2 separate regions of the Homo sapiens genome follow, and region 1 is linked to region 2. The links are contacts of gene promoters, found by promoter capture Hi-C in blood cells and fetal thymus (Javierre and others, 2016). All regions are on one chromosome and are shown on one strand. Each heading gives the region's core, a stretch centred on a gene start or on the middle of the fragment in contact. The rest is flanking DNA. Distances are from core to core; before and after follow the strand shown.

Region 1 (3,353 bases), core at 7-2,506, 530 kb after region 2:
AGGCAGTACCACTTTTTCTCGGTGTGTTGGGAATTGTCAGTTAAAAACACACTCTAGAAGGAGAACTTCATGCTGCTATTATCTCTTAAGCCACTTGGAATCAGTTGTATGTAGTTGTTGATTTGTCAAAGAGTTCATTTTTTTTGGTAGTGGAGCCATAATAAAGCTTAGCAATGCAGTTTTATAACTGAGTGTCTCATATTTTCAAATGGTTCATCTTTATCTTGACTTTACGGTTTACACATTTTTGCCATTATTTATTTCACTATAATTTCTTTGCAGATCTAGTGCACTTAAGGTATTGGAGAGACTCTAAGGAGCTCAAGATTACAGAGTAATGATAGTCCTTCTACAGTTCCCTATGAGGAGGGTAGAACACCACCACAGGTCAATCGAAAACTTACCACTTCCTGACCTTGGCAGATGTAAATGTGTGGTTATGGTTTCTTCCAGGAGAAGTGTGTGATTTAGCTGGGGAGTTAAGATGAATGTGCTGGGAACAATTTGAAAGTGATGTGAGAATGTGTCGTTAGGTGATAAATTGTGATTGTGTTAAGTGTTGTGAGGTTCAAGGCAAGTACAGATGCTTAAGGCTTGGATTGCTGGAGGGAAAACGTGAGCCTTGAGCCCCAGTGTGCCAAGTTGACAGGGAGGAGAAGAAAGGAGGGGCGTTGCAGGTGAGAGGGCGTAATGTGAGCACAGCATGAACGTGGCAGGATCATGCGTTTCACAGGACAGCCGTGAGGAGCTGCACACGTCTTCCCACAGAAGCAGCTCATACAGTGTTAGATTGTTCTGGGAGTATTCGCCCTGGTTTGAATCATCCATTTTAAATTATTTCTCTTGTTTTTTTCTTTTTCTTTTCTTTTTTTTTTTTTTTGGTCTCAATATAGCACTCTGAATAACCCTGCTGATCAAATGGATGTGATTGGAGTAGGCGGCATTGACTTTGAAGATAACATCGCCCGCTTTTCTTCAAGGGGAATGACTACCTGGGTACGCTCTTCTTTGCTAAATAATTGTATTTAGCTGGACAAACTACTGTGGCTAGTGGCACCGGTTGTTGACGAGCCTTGGGGTGTATTTGTAAGTGCACAGACACCCTCACATTCACATGGGAATAGCCGGGGCTGTGAGTGCCTGCCCAGCCGTGAGGACGAGAGATCTGGGCCCCGTCAGCATCTGCCACTTCACTCTGGCAAGTCCACAGCTGCTGTGATGAGCACCGGCTGATTCTAAGCGGTGTTTCCCAGTTTAACTTATTAATTGATTTCTGAGGAACTCACCTTTAGGTGAATTGGGTTCCTGCCCGTTTACCCTATCTAGTAGTGGTAAGCAGTCCTCCTCAGTGGTAGGTGAGATGATATTTTTTGGGGGAGGGGAGCCTTAAGAAGTTGGAGAAACCATTGAGAACAGCTTAATATCAACTCTGCTAACACAGAAACAATTGTATTTAGCTGGACAAATTCAAAATAACTGCTACAGTTAATAATTCAGCTGTTTGGGGTTTAATTATGCAGCACATTCACCCACCTTTACCTGTCAAAGTTTGATGAAAAATTAGACGCTCGTGCAGAACAGCAGTTGGGCACCTTTGCCCTCGCTGTGGCCGAGGGGAGCATCTGCCCTTCTCATTCTTCAGGGTCAGAGCATCTCTTGGTGTTTAACGTCACATGCCACACTCGGAGGCCTCAGATAAGTCCCTGGAAAGATTCCCAACTGCCTGGGAACACTGTGGGCCTCGTCCACACTGTAGCCACTTTACAGGATAGCCTTCTGCCTGAGCCTTTGTCCTGTGACAGCGTCAGCCCCCAGCGTCCCCGCCACTCAGCCCCACCAGGGGTCCCCGCCTCCCACACTCACGTGCCTCTTCCTGGAGCTGACCTGTTGGCTGGGGACCATTCTCTCATGTGACAGTCTGTGCAGGGCAGGCTGCGTGTCCTCCCATCCACGCTCCCTCAGCATGTTCCTTGTGCTGCCGGATAATGGGAAACTGCATCCACCACTTTGTCCCCAGCTCCCTGTGTAAATGCTCTCACCGAACTGTGGTGAGATGTCATCCACTTTGTCCCCAGCTCCCCGTGTAAACGCTTTCACCAAACCGTGATGAGATGTCACGTCCATGGCCTTCATCACCAGCCAGCTTTTTAATGGCATTTGAGAAATGTCCTTCCATCATCACAGCTGCAGTGGAGGATGCCTTTACTCGGTATCCCAGTATGTGCATCCATGGTCCTTGGGTTTGATGGTCAGAAAAGGGCTTCCCTTCAAATTGGGCTCCTGTTTTCTGACAGAATATGAGATCCTATTCTAATTTTCGTTTTGCCCCAATTCTTAAGAAGCTTAAGCAAGTACTTATTAAAACGTTATCCCAAGTTAGTCGTGTGGTTATCTTGTTCCTTCTCAGTGGTTTCTTATTTCCTCTTTTACAACCGTTTGAAACATCCACTCATACCGTGTACTTTTTTCCTTGTAAAGAAACATGTTTGGGTTTTTTTACATTTTAATTTTCTAATTTTTCTAACATATTTCTAATTTTAACTTATCTAGAGATAAAGCAGTTTCCAGTTTCTGGTCTTGGTGATAAGCCAGTGTCCACTTTCCAGTCTGGCATGTCAGCAAAATTAAAATACTTATCTTTTAATTGCTTTATGCCTTTGCCATTGTTCTGGTTGTTATAAAATATATTTTTAAAAATTTACTTTCTACATTATCGTTTAAGCTTATTTTCTGTATTGTAGTGAATTTCTTTGTTTTTTTCTCTTTTTTTTTGGGGGGGGGGCGGGTGCGGGGCTGAGGGGGACAGGATCTCACTGTGTTGCCCAGGCTGGAGTGCAGTGGCACAATCACGGCTCCCTGCAGCCTTGACCTCCCGGGCTCAGGTGATCCTCCTGAGTAGCCGGGACTACAGGCTTGTGCCACTACATCTGGCTAATTTTTGTATTTTTTGTGGAGATGGGGGTCTTACTGTGTAGCCCAGGCTAGTCTGGAACTCCTGGGCTCAAGCAGTCCACCTGCCTCGGCCTCCCAGAGTGTTGGGATTACAGGTGTGAGCCTTGCGCCTGGCCTGGAGTGAATTTCAGACTAAAACCAGTACCTTCCTAAGGTTATACAGTTTTTAACTAACCCATATCTCTGTTCTGATTTGATTCACTCATGATTGCATGCGGCTGTATGCCAATGTGCGAGATGTAGCAACCAAGCTGCTTTTATTCATAGGAGCTACCAGGAGGCTACGGTCGCATGAAACCTGACATTGTCACCTATGGTGCTGGCGTGCGGGGTTCTGGCGTGAAAGGGGGGTGCCGGGCCCTCTCAGGGACCAGTGTTGCTTCTCCAGTGGTTGCAGGTGC
Region 2 (3,157 bases), core at 24-2,523:
CCAACAATGATGACATTTTATCGAATGTCTAGTATATTTGTTCCAAGTATCATTTCAATTACACTTAAAACAAAGCAGTGATGTCAGTTATACTATTTTTCCCATTTGAGGAGTCATTTAAAAGAGGTTTTGAGGCTTTCCAATGGCCCCCAGTTGGAAAGTGGCAGTACTGGATGCAATTCAAGAGCCCAGTCTTCAGGATCCTGCCTTTTTACCTACCTGGACGCTGTAACTGGTCTCTGTGGAATGGCTGGATGAGGGAATGAATGAATGAGTCAGTGAAGGAATGAGGAAGACAGAATGAGTCAGCTCGTGCTTTCAGAGGAGCCCAAAGGGAGAGGTTAAGATAGGAATGCAAATGACCAGAATCCAGAGTAAACGCGAGCCCACCAGCGTTTTGGAAGCAGTCCACTTTCTACCCCCTCCTATTTAAAATGCTTCATTCTTTCCAGTTCCTCCCCACCTAGAATCCATGGAACCAAACGCTGGGGTAGGGACAGTGGCCAGCCTGTCTCCTTGGGTTTGACGCATTACATCATCCACGTGGAGGTCCCCTGTGGAGCTCTGCAGCCCTGCAGCCTCAGGGGCAGGGGGGTGGGGAGAATGAGGAAGGGGGAGAGGGGGAATAGGAGGAGGGAGTAGGGGACAGGGAGGGAGGAGATGCCAGGAGGGTAAGTGGAGAAGAGGGAGGCGAAGCCGGGGGCAGCAGGGGAGGGGGTCAAGGAGGAGGAAAGAGGAGAGCTTGGGGAGAAGGAAATAGGGAGGATGGAGAAGTTTTGGGCTGGGATAGGCAAGAAGAGGGAGGAGGAGAGAGGAAGAAGAATAAAGGGGGAAGGGAGAAAGAGGGGGAGGGAAGGGAGGGGGAAGAGGTCAGGGAAGTGGGGGAAGCAAGCAGTGGGGGAAGAAGAGGAAGGAGGAGGGAGAGGAGGAAGGCGGGGTGGGAAAGGGGGTTGGGGTAGTGGGAGTTTCCAGGGAGGGGTCGGGAGGGGAGGAGGGGAAGTGAGAAGGAGAAGGAGAGAGAAGAGGGATGTTGGGGGAGAAGAGAGCGGGAGGGAGGAGGGAGAGTGAGAGGGAGGAGGCAAAGCCCCTACTCCAGCCCCCACCGCGGAGTTGCGCAAGCCTTCCGGTCTGGGATTGGCCGCCAGAGAATCAAGACGCTCCGCCCCCGCAGCCCGACGGCCAATGAAGAGGCGGGCCGCCGCCTGGGCGGCCAATGGGCGCGGGGGGGCGGGGCGGGCCACGGCCTGGGGTCCCCGCGCGCTCTCCGTCCGCAGTGGAAGCCGCCGCCGCGCTCGCAGCTTGCAGGCGCCGCGTAGCCGTCGCCACCGCCGCCAGCCCGTGCGCCCTCGGCGCGTACCCGCCGCGCTCCCATCCCCGCCGCCGGCCAGGGGCGCGCTCGGCCGCCCCGGACAGTGTCCCGCTGCGGCTCCGCGGCGATGGCCACCAAGATCGACAAAGAGGCTTGCCGGGCGGCGTACAACCTGGTGCGCGACGACGGCTCGGCCGTCATCTGGTAGGAACTTTTCATTCGTCTCCACGCCCCGCTCCCCGGGCTCGCGCGGGGCCTCGTGCACCGAGCCGGCCTCCAGGCGGGACGGATTCGGGCCTCCCGCGCTGTCTTCCTCGCCTTATTCCGGGACGGCGTGCCAGGCCCCCGCGGGCTTCTCCGTGGCCAGCGCGTCTGTTAGATTGTCCTCTGCAAGCGCCGCGTCGCGCGGCCACCAGCGCTGATGTGTGTGTGTGTTTTTTTCTTCTCCCAACCCAAAGGGTGACTTTTAAATATGACGGCTCCACCATCGTCCCCGGCGAGCAGGGAGCGGAGTACCAGCACTTCATCCAGCAGTGCACAGGTAGGGAGGCGCGCCTGCCGGGCGGATGCGCGGTCGTTGGGAGGTTGTCTGCACCCGGGGAGCCCCGGCCAGAGCGAACCCGGGAGGAACCGGTGGCCACATGGGGTGCCCCTGGCGCATGGCGTGGGAGGAACCCGGTGTGAGCGTTTTAAGGCCTCATAAAACCTTCTCCCCTCTGGACATCCGAAGCAACAGAAGTGACCCACCTGCCTCCGCCATCCTACAATGCCTTCTCCAGGCGGGGCAGCTCTTTTGCCCCCTGCGGTCCACTGGTTTTCTAAGGTCAACTCCTGTGTTTCCAAACTCCAGTGTCCATCCAGCTCTTCCCACTGTCCCCTTTGATCAGTCACTGAGCCCAAATACGAACAGGCTAGGGGGCTGCTTGGAAGGGAAAGAAACTCAGCCGCGCCCTCCTTTCTCCCGCTATCATTGTCTGCCCGTGTGCTGATTTTATGTGATTTTTAATTTGACGAGTAGAATCAGATGCAAAAGAGTACACACCATATGATTCCATTTAGAAATCCTAGACAAGGCGAAACTAATCTATGGTGTGAATGTCAGAATCGAGATTAGCTTTTGGGGCTAGATAGCCACTGATGGGGAGGGGCACACCACCCGGACTGCTGGGAGCTGAAAATGTCTCTGTAGACATTTGTTGATCTGGGAGGGGGTTATGCAGGTGTGTACCCGCGTGAAAAATCATCAGACTGTATACTTAAGATTTGTGTGCCTTAGGCACTTCCCTGTGGCTTGTGAACCATGAAAAGAAAGACCACGTGGCAGGCATCGCCATAAACCCTTCGGTAGTGGCAGAGGCTCTGTGATGTTGGTAATGGGACCTTTTAAAGAGATTGGAGAATGCGACTCCCTCCCATCTCTGGTCTTTAGTTGGAAGCAAGCTTTCGGACAACGGCAGCACAGCCCGGAGGTTACGGCGTGGACCCTGAGCCAGACGGTGTGGGTTACTTATTTATTTATTTATTTATTTATTTATTTTTGAGACAGAATCTTCCTCTTTTGCCCAGGCTGGAGTGCAGTGGTACAATCTCAGCTAACTGCAACCTCCGTCTCCCGGGTTCAAGAGATTCTCCTGCCTCAGCCTCCTGAGTAGCTGGGATTACAGGCGCCCACGACCACGCCTGGCTAATTTTTTGTAATTTTAGTAGAGATGGGGTTTTCACCATTTTGGCCAGGCTGGTCTCTAACTTCTGACCTTAGGTGATCTGCCCACCTTGGCCTCTCAAAGTGCTGGGATTACAGGCGTGAGCCACTGCGCCCGGCCGACGGTGTGGGTTCGAATCCCTGAA

What was found. Contacts are between HindIII fragments. The CHiCAGO score rates a contact against its expected background, and 5 or more counts as called.
Region 1: a contact is called between a fragment that was not itself captured here and the fragment with the promoter of COTL1 in region 2, in 1 of 17 cell types (naive CD4 T cells). The highest score is 7.4, in naive CD4 T cells.

What each region holds. Positions count from the first base shown.
Region 1 is chr16:84,085,001-84,088,353 of GRCh38, reverse strand. It overlaps MBTPS1 (membrane bound transcription factor peptidase, site 1), which reads left to right. Exons shown (of 23, transcript NM_003791.4): 9 at 894-996; 10 at 3,220-3,353. Among named protein-coding and RNA genes, the nearest start is that of MBTPS1, 30 kb to the left of the region's middle. The HindIII fragment of the contact is 2,176 bases long and covers 169-2,344 here.
Region 2 is chr16:84,616,194-84,619,350 of GRCh38, reverse strand. COTL1 (coactosin like F-actin binding protein 1) reads left to right here and starts at 1,273. Exons shown (of 4, transcript NM_021149.5): 1 at 1,273-1,513; 2 at 1,768-1,850. The coding sequence starts at 1,437. RefSeq lists silencers at 1,015-1,374, 1,395-1,444. The HindIII fragment of the contact is 6,545 bases long and covers 1-2,751 here.